Regions from separate parts of the Homo sapiens genome. Here all the other regions are linked to region 3. Evidence: promoter capture Hi-C in human tissues and cell types (Jung and others, 2019). All regions are on one chromosome and are shown on one strand. Each heading gives the region's core, a stretch centred on a gene start or on the middle of the fragment in contact. The rest is flanking DNA. Distances are from core to core; before and after follow the strand shown. Region 1 holds the start of SLC9A1 (solute carrier family 9 member A1). Region 2 overlaps RPS6KA1 (ribosomal protein S6 kinase A1). Region 3 holds the start of ZDHHC18 (zDHHC palmitoyltransferase 18).

Region 1 (2,827 bases), core at 30-2,529, 330 kb after region 3:
AGGTGGCAGGATGGAGACTGCCTACTTTATGGGGGTAGTTCAGATCCTTACTCCTGGACAGCCTCAAATGGTGCGAGATGAGGCAAGAAGCTCACCAGTCTGGTGGCGGCCGCAGCATCGGAGCAAACGGGACTTACCTATCTTCATGAGGCAGGCCAGAAGGATCCAGAGGGAGATCTCGAAGGGGGTGCGCACGTGTGTGTAGTCGATGCCCAGGACTGGAAAGGCCTTGCGCGGCTTCATGCCATGATCAGTGACGGAATGATTAACAGGGCGGCTCTCTGGGGTGACCTCCGGTGGAGCGGTGGTGACATCCCCAATCGAGCGTTCTCGTGGTGGCTCTGAGCTTCGAATGGTGCTGGCAGTTGGGCTGAGCTGGAGGCCATGGCTCCTGAGAACAGGCAGCAGCCCCACCAAAGCAACCACCACGAGTAAGGAAGGGAAGATCCGATGTGGAGAGAGGCCACAGATGCCAGACCGCAGAACCATGGTGCTGCTTCCAGAGCCAGCCTCGACCTTACCCAAATGAGAGTAAAACCGGGCACATAGGTAGCAAAGGGTCAGCAAGTGGGAAGAGAGACTGGCGTAGTCTCTAGGAAAAGTTCATGTTTTAGAGAGGCATTTCCATGGAAGCAATTTTCTGGGGGTGGAGGGAGGCTGGGTTTGCAATCTGGAACTCCAAAGTGGGGAAAGGGGGCAAGGACCCAGGAACGACCACGAAAGGAGACCAAAAGGTCTGGAACTCCGGGCCTGGGAAGGGGGAGGACGGATGTGGGAAACTGAGCCCTAGGGATAGAGGAAGGGGCAGGATAGGGATAGTGCAAAGGAAAGGAAGAAGGAAGGCTGGGACCTTTGGCTGAGGAAAGTGACTGAGGAGCTGGGACTCTGGGCTGTGGGCTAAAGGAAGGGGTAGGGAGCCTGAGCTAAAGGAAGGGGACCGAAGGGGGTGAGAGCCAGTCCAGGAAAAGGAGAGAGGGGGCTGGGAGCCCAGGCTGAGAAGGAGTGAAACCGGGAAGCGGCCGGGAGCTTCTCCACCCAGAGAGGGGCAGGGGTCCAGGCGCGCCGGGCTGAGATTCCGGGGAAATGGAAAGAGGCGGAAGGCAGGCGGCCTGGCGGGAAGGCGCCTCGGCGCGGGCTGGGGGCGGCTCGCGGTGGGCCAGCAGCAACACGCCCCTCCTCGCGGCCCTGGCGCGACGCGGCGCTCCGCCCCGGCCCAGCTGCAGCTCCTCCTGGTCCAGCTCCAGAACTAACCCTAGCCCCGGCCCCGGCGGCAGCAGACTGAAGCCTAGCTGAGCCCGGCGCTGTCACTTATAGGCACCAGCGAGCAGCCGGTGCGGCGGGCTAGAGAGACCGTCGGCACCCGCCCAGCGCAGCGGCCCCTGTCGCCGAGGGAAAGAAGTATCGCGTAGGAAGAGGAAGGAGAGTCAGAGATGACAAAAAAAAAAAAAAAAAAAAGTCCTGAATATACAGAGAACCTCACTAACGCGAGTAAAATGCCGACTACTTACAAAACGATTTCACGTCCACATCTGCAGTCTCATAAGGGCTTTCGAATAATCCTGTGAAGAATGTATTATTAGTTTATGTATTTAGTTACCGTGTGACCTTGAGCAAGTTACTTAACCTGTTTCACAACTTTCTCATCTGTTAAGTAGAGACAGTAATAGTGACTATGTCAGAGGGATGATGTAATGACTGAGACAATCCGTGTAAACTATTTGGAATGCACCCTGGCACATTATTACAATTCCACTTTTACAGATGAGGAAACAGGTGAAGAGAGTCCCCTGGCTACTATGCAAGTAGTTGTATTGCTTACTAGGGCTGCCGTAACAAAGTATCACCCCAAACTGGGTGGCTGCAACAACAGAAATTGATTGTCTCACAGTTCTGGAGGCTGGAGGTCGGATCTAGGTGTTGGCAGGGTTGGTTTCAGCTGAGAGCTATGAGGGAGAATCTGTCCCATGCCTTTCTCCTACCTTCCAGTGGTTTGTTAGGACTATCTGGTATTCCATGGAGTTCTCCTGGTGTCTCTGTCTCTGCGTCCAGATTCCCCGCCCACACTTTATTTTTATTTTTATTTTTTTTGAGATAGAGTCTGGCTCTTGTTGCCCAGGCTGGAGTGCGGTGGCGCCATCTCAGCTCAATGCAACCTCTGCCTCCTGGATTCAAGCGATTCTCCTGCCTCAGCCTCCAGAGTAGCTGGGATTACTGGCACCCACCACCACGTCCAGCTAATTTTTGTATTTTTAGTAGAGATGGGGTTTCACCATGTTGGTCAGGCTGGTCTCGAACTCCTGACCTCAGGTGATCCACCCGCCTCGGCCTCCCAAAGTGCTGGGATTACAGGGGTAAGCCACAACCCCCAGCCAGATTTCCCCTTTTTATAAGGACACCAGTCATTGGATTAGAAATCCAACGTAATTACCTCATCTTAACCTGAACATCTTCAAAGACTGCATCCTAATTAGTCCATCTTCATAGGCACTGGGCATTAGGACTTCAACTTCTTTTGCCGGGACACAATTCAACCCACAACAGTGGCATGCTTTAAGTAGTGGAACTTAAATTTGAACCTATAGTTTGGTTGAAATTGGTGAGGTTCAAGGGATCATGGCTGTACAATGGAATCACTGGAAAGCTTTTTTAAAATACCATTGTCTAGGCCGGGCGTAGTGGCTGACGCCTGTAATCCCAGCACTTTGGGAGGCCGAGGCGGGCGGATCACGAGGTCAGGAGATCGAGACCACGGTGAAACCCGGTCTCTACTAAAAATACAAAAAATTAGCCGGGCGCAGTGGCGGGCGCCTGTAGTCCCAGCTACTCG
Region 2 (3,252 bases), core at 655-3,154, 260 kb before region 3:
CCCAGAAAGGGAGGCAGGCCACTCAAAGCCGTACTTAGTGGCACAGCTGGAACTCAGCTCAGGGCTCCTGCGTCCCTCCCAGGCCTGCCCAGACTTTTCAGAACTAAAGTCCTCTCCATGTGTGTTGTGACCCTGTTTCCCACTCCCTACACTGCCCTCTGACCACAGGCTGCAGTCCAGGCAGGCTGGGAGCCAGTGAGTATGCCCATTATATAGAGTAGAAAACTGAGGCCCAGAGAGGGGCAGGCTGTCACCTGCGGTCACATGGCCAACACTCTACCCCAAGTCTCCTGGCCCTTCCCTGGTGCTGTCTCTACTGAGCCAAGACCTTAGGTCCTGGGGGATGACCCCTAGCACTCTAGAGCCAGGGGTCAGCCACAATTTTTGGTCTCCTACAGCAACTCCATGGGAAGAACCTGGTTTTTAGTGACGGCTACGTGGTAAAGGAGACAATTGGTGTGGGCTCCTACTCTGAGTGCAAGCGCTGTGTCCACAAGGCCACCAACATGGAGTATGCTGTCAAGGTGGGCCTCCTGACCACGTCTCGGCCAAGGCTGCTGGGTTGGGGGCAGGTCCCCGTCTGGTGGGGAGGGATGGTGCCTGAGCTCTGCAGATGTATGAAAGGTGTGTGGCCGAGACCTCCTGGCCTGCTCCATGGCCAGAAAGGACCCTGGACCCTGTCACCCTGACACTGCCACATGCACCCCCTTTCTTCAGGTCATTGATAAGAGCAAGCGGGATCCTTCAGAAGAGATTGAGATTCTTCTGCGGTATGGCCAGCACCCCAACATCATCACTCTGAAAGATGTGAGTGGGGGTCCTTAAGACTGGGGTGGGGACCAGGAACTCAACTCTCAGGATTTGTCTCAGGATTGCCATTCCTTTGACTTCTCATCCTCTTTCCAGTGGTCATGTGGAGGGGAAGGAGGTCCCTTGGTCCCTTCAGTCTGCCCATACCCCAAGGGCCCTCCTTCAGACTCAGACATTTTCTGAGGACCTTCTTGCGTATCAGGAGACCAGTGTCAGCATCCTCCTTTTGGGGAAGGCAGGACCACTGAAGAGCAAGCAGAACACCTGCCCAAGGCTCATGTCATTCTTCCCTGCTCTGGGGCGCTGCTGACCAGGGGGCTCAGGCCTGACACTGGGGAGAAGAGCCTGATGGTGAGGTCTTCGGCAGGTGTATGATGATGGCAAACACGTGTACCTGGTGACAGAGCTGATGCGGGGTGGGGAGCTGCTGGACAAGATCCTGCGGCAGAAGTTCTTCTCAGAGCGGGAGGCCAGCTTTGTCCTGCACACCATTGGCAAAACTGTGGAGTATCTGCACTCACAGGGGGTGAGTCTGGATTCGGGGAGGCAGTAGGGGGATGCCAAGGGTCATATCATCAGCAGAGAACATGAACCACCTGCTGGCCCAGGAATGGCAGCCTCCAGCTAGCCAAACTGAGGGGACACTAGGGCTGGGTGGGTGGATGCGTGCAAAGGAAGGAGGGAGAGATGTGGCCAATTGTGAAAGGGAAGGTATGGAAAGTTATTCAGTATCTACTGTGTGCCAGGCACCATGGTAAGGTTTAGCATAAGATGAAGTTTCCAGACCAGGCATGGTAGCTCACGCCTGTAATCCCAGCAACTTGGGAGGGCAACGCAGGTGGATCACTTGAGGTCAGGAGTTTGACACCAGCCTGGCCAACATGGTGAAACCCCATCTCTACTAAAATACAAAAAAATTAGCCGGGTGTGGTGGGGGGCATCTGTAATCTCAGCTACTTGGGAGGCTGAGGCAGAAGAGTGGCTTGAACCCGGGAGGCGGAGGTTGCAGTGAGCCAAGATCACACCATTGCACTACAGCCTGGGCAACAGAGCGAAACTCCATCTAATAAATAAATACATAAATAAGATTTACATTATCTCAATTGATTTTCACAACAACTCTGAGATAGATGCTGTTACTGGCCCCACTTCACAGGTAAGAAGACCGGAGCTCAGAGATGAAAGTTCATTTGCTAAATATCACATAGCCCGGGAAGAATGGAAGAATTTCAGACTGAAGAATTTAGGTGGGGAGTGGCTTTTGAGTTAGGAAGTGGCAGGGTCACCGTGGGGGAGCTGCAAGGCTTCAGGGAGGTGAATTTGACTGGGTTCAGTTGCTAAGGCAGAGGAAATGGATGCAGGAGGAAATTCTGCTGGAAACGTAGCAGGGACTGCAGAAGAGGTATAGGTCCAAATGGCAGGGTCTGGCCTTTATTACTGCACAAGGCAGGTGAGCACTAGATGACGGTGAGGTAGGAAAGTTCATTACAGTGGATTAAAGCCCAAAACAGTAGCATTAGCTTCTCTCTGCATGAGATAATGTTTTAGGGTGCATCTGATCAGACAACATGGGGGTTAAGAATGCAGGCTATGAATCCACCTGGCTGAGTCCAGGTCTTGGTGTATGAGGTTGTTAACTTGTTTTCACATAGTACCCAGTCCATAGACACATTTTTCTCCTATTGTCCTTTTTTTTTTTTTTTTTTTTTTTTTTTGGAGATAGAGTCTTGCTCCTGTCGCCCAGGCTGGAGTGCAGTGGCACGATCTTGGCTCACTGCAACCTCTGCCTCCCGGGTTCAAGTGACTCTCCTGCCTCAGCCTCCCAAGTAGCTGGGATTAGAGGCGCCTGTCACCATGCCTGGCTAATTTTTTTGTATTTTTAGTAGAGATGGGGTTTCACCATGTTGGCCAGGCTGGTCTCAAACTCCTGACCTCAGGTGATCTGCCCGCCTCGGCCTCCCAAAGTGCTGGGATTACAGGTGTGAGCCACCACACCCGGCCCCCATTGTCCTTTCAAAAATGTCTTTTTTGACTGGTTTATTGAAATTAGAATACCTGTAAGTTCCACACATTTCATTCAGTTGGTAAATCTCTCCCCCTTTTTTTTGAGACAGGGTCTCACTCTGTTGCCCAGGCTGGAATGCAGTGACACAATTGCAGTTCACTGCAGCCTTGACCTCCTTGCGCTCAAATGATCCTCCCACTTCAGCCTCCCAAATAGCGGGGACCACAGGCACGCACCACCACACCTGGCTAATTTTGTATTTTTTGTAGAGATGGGGTTTTGGCTTGTTGCCCAGGCTGGTCTTGAACTCTTGAGCTCAAGTGATTTGCCCACCTTGGCCTCCCAAAGTGCTGGGATTACAGGCGTAAGCCACCTTACCCAGCCTCTTTTCTTCTTTTTTAAAACTGGAGGAAAATTTGCATACAGTAGATTTCAAG
Region 3 (2,886 bases), core at 27-2,526:
TAGGAGAAACCTGCATGGCAAGGAAATGTGATAATCTCTAGGAACTGCAGGTGGCTTTTGGATCCTGAGAGAGGCCTCCAGCAGACACCCAGCAAAAATCCCAGGCCCTCCTCAGTTATACAGTCACCCAGCAAAAATCCCAGGCCCTCTTCAGTTAAACAGTCGCAAGGAAGTTAATTCTGCCAATAACCCAAATGGGCTTGCAAGTGGATTCTTCCCTGGCTGAGTCTCCAGATGAGAATGCAGCCTGATTGCAGCCTTGTGAGACTAAGCAGAGGACCCAGCTAAGCTGTTCTCTGGCTCCTGACCTGGAACCTGTTAGATAACGTTTGTTTTTTGTTTTTTTTGAGACGGAGTCTTGCTCTGTCACCAGGCCGGGTGCAATGGCACAATCTCGGCTCACTGCAACCTCCACCTCCTGGGTTCAAGCAATTCTCCTGCCTCAGCCTCCCGAGTAGCTGGGACTATAGATGCCGTGCCACCATGCCCAGCTAATTTTTTATTTTTAGTAGAGACGGGGTTTCACCATATTGGCCAGGATGGTCTCTCTCGACCTTGTGATCCACCCACCTCGGCCTCCCAAAGTGCTGGGATTACAGGCGTGAGACACCGCGCCCGGCCGATAATGTTTGTTTTAAGCCTTAAATTTGTGGTAACTTGTTACACAGCAGTAGAAAATGAATACTCCCAGAATTCCTGAAAAAACACTGGGGCCCTCAGGCATGACCCCTCTACATTATGTGCTACCTAGGAAAATCTGGGCCTGGGCCCAGGACACAGAACTTGGTGAACGAGGCCAGAGGGTGTGCCACACACCTCCAGTGGGCACTCTGGACTTCAAGGTAGAAGAGGTCCTGGCTTTCAAAGCAAATCGTGTGCCCCACCTCCCCGCGCCTGCCTGCCTCTGCAAATGCCTGTCAGTTCGACCCTCAGAGATGGGCGAAGCCTGGGGAATTACAGACTGCCAGAAGTAGATCACGAAGTCCACCACCTGAATCTCGGCGTTTGGCACCGTGCCTGGTACACAGTGGACGCCCAACAAACGGCTTGCTTGCAGAACAGAAAGAGCCCTCGAGTGCGCGTCTGCTGGCCCCCTCTTTGTGCAGAAGGGAAAAGGGAGACTGGGAGGGCCGGGGACCTGCGGGGCCCCGCCGCGGGTCAGAGCTGGGCCTCCGGCCAAGCGCCATCCCGGGCCCAGGCGGAGGGGGCGCTGCGGCGGGAGGCCGCGGCGGGCGGTGGCGGCGGGCCGGGGGCGGAGCGATGGCGGGGCCGCCCCAGTGAGTGAGCGAGCGAGCGCCGCGCGCGCCGCCGCTGCCACCTCCGCTGCTCGGCCCGGTCCCGGAGTGGCCCGGCCGGCCCGCGGGGCGCGGAGCCGAGGCCCGCGGCTGGCTGCATGAAGGACTGCGAGTACCAGCAGATCAGCCCCGGGGCCGCCCCGCTGCCCGCCTCCCCGGGGGCGCGCCGTCCCGGCCCCGCCGCGTCCCCGACTCCGGGCCCCGGGCCCGCGCCGCCCGCCGCCCCCGCCCCGCCGCGCTGGAGCAGCAGCGGCAGCGGCAGCGGCAGCGGGAGCGGGAGCCTCGGCCGCCGCCCACGGCGCAAGTGGGAGGTGTTCCCGGGTCGCAATCGCTTCTACTGCGGCGGCCGCCTCATGCTGGCCGGCCACGGCGGCGTCTTCGCGCTCACGCTGCTGCTCATCCTCACCACCACCGGCCTCTTCTTCGTCTTTGAGTGAGTTCCGCTGCCTCGGCGCCCCCTCCCAGCCCCCTGCCGCGCACCCCACCTTCCCAATCCCTGCTGGGCACTCCGTGCCTTCCCCTTCGCCTCCCTGGTCCTCATCCTCCCCGCCCCTTTGGGATCCTCCTCGGGCCTCTTGTCTGCCCCCCTGGCCCCTGCGCACCCCCATCCCCGCCAGATGCCCCATCCTCCTTGGTCCATTTGGGTACCCCATCCGCGCTGGTGCCCTCCACCCTCCCAGCCCCTCCATTCTCCCTGACCCCACCCTGGCACCTGTCTGCCTGCCACTGCCAGGAACACCAGCCTCCATGCCCCTCCACGGCCCCCATCCTCGCTGCCCTCTCAGAACCTGCCCCAGGGCTTCTTGAACAGGCCCCTCCTGCTCACCCATCCCTGGACCATCTCTTGCCAACCCCCCAAGTTCTTTCTGACCCTTGTATCCCTTCCTGACCACTTCTAGATCTTGTGTGTCCTTTGGCTGTGCACACCCACCATAAACATCCTAGTCATCCTCGCTGCCCTCTCCGGGTCCCTCCAGGGTCCCCTCCTTTTCTCTAGTCTCAGACACCAACCCCGCTTTTGCTTCCCCTCAGCCACGCACACCCTAGGCCCCAAGGCATCTTTTCTCAAAATCTTTGGGCCTCTCGGGCCCCCTTTCCTTCTCCAGAACCTTCCTTAGGTTCTCCAGAGCTTCCTGTCCTTCCCTCAGATCCCGCCCGCCTCCACCCAGCCGGCTCCCAGGCCCCTGGCCCCCCTGCTGACCACCTGGCTTTCTTTCCCTGCTCAACATTCTGGAACGTCCCTCTGGCCTGTTCCACATCAGCAACAGCTGCGGTGCCTTGTTGTTTTTCAGGAAAGACTTCGGAGTGCTTTCGTGTGACAGGTCATATTTGCCCCCCTAGGTTTTTGTCCTCTTCATATCCCCCGGTGACCCAGGATTGGCCCACACATAATCTCCATTTTATGGATGGAGGGTCATATATTTGTATTAGAAGTTTTCCACCCACCTCTGAGCCACCTGCACTGTGATTCCTTGCACACACACTCACACGCCCACCCACCCACCCTTGCTTCATAAGCCCTGCTGTCCCCTCCCAACTCCCCATCCTTTGTGGTTGTTCCTCTTAATTATACAGTGTAGTTAAGAACTCT

Evidence for each region. The method cuts DNA at HindIII sites, captures the fragments that hold promoters and counts their contacts. A contact is called where the count stands out against the background at its distance.
Region 1: the fragment with the promoter of SLC9A1 here is called in contact with the fragment with the promoter of ZDHHC18 in region 3 in 1 of the 25 tissues and cell types used here (adrenal gland).
Region 2: a contact is called between a fragment that was not itself captured here and the fragment with the promoter of ZDHHC18 in region 3, in 1 of the 25 tissues and cell types used here (spleen).

What each region holds. Positions count from the first base shown.
Region 1 is chr1:27,153,846-27,156,672 of GRCh38, forward strand. SLC9A1 (solute carrier family 9 member A1) reads right to left here and starts at 1,280. Exons shown (of 12, transcript NM_003047.5): 1 at 138-1,280. The coding sequence starts at 489. RefSeq lists a silencer at 1,000-1,229 and an enhancer at 2,175-2,674. The HindIII fragment of the contact is 28,159 bases long and covers 1-2,827 here.
Region 2 is chr1:26,560,328-26,563,579 of GRCh38, forward strand. It overlaps RPS6KA1 (ribosomal protein S6 kinase A1), which reads left to right. Exons shown (of 22, transcript NM_002953.4): 15 at 399-524; 16 at 718-807; 17 at 1,178-1,336. Among named protein-coding and RNA genes, the nearest start is that of MIR1976, 7.4 kb to the left of the region's middle. The HindIII fragment of the contact is 8,603 bases long and covers 1-3,252 here.
Region 3 is chr1:26,825,412-26,828,297 of GRCh38, forward strand. ZDHHC18 (zDHHC palmitoyltransferase 18) reads left to right here and starts at 1,277. Exons shown (of 8, transcript NM_032283.3): 1 at 1,277-1,728. The coding sequence starts at 1,394. RefSeq lists silencers at 1,059-1,211, 1,175-1,324, 1,335-1,544. The HindIII fragment of the contact is 18,291 bases long and covers 1-2,886 here.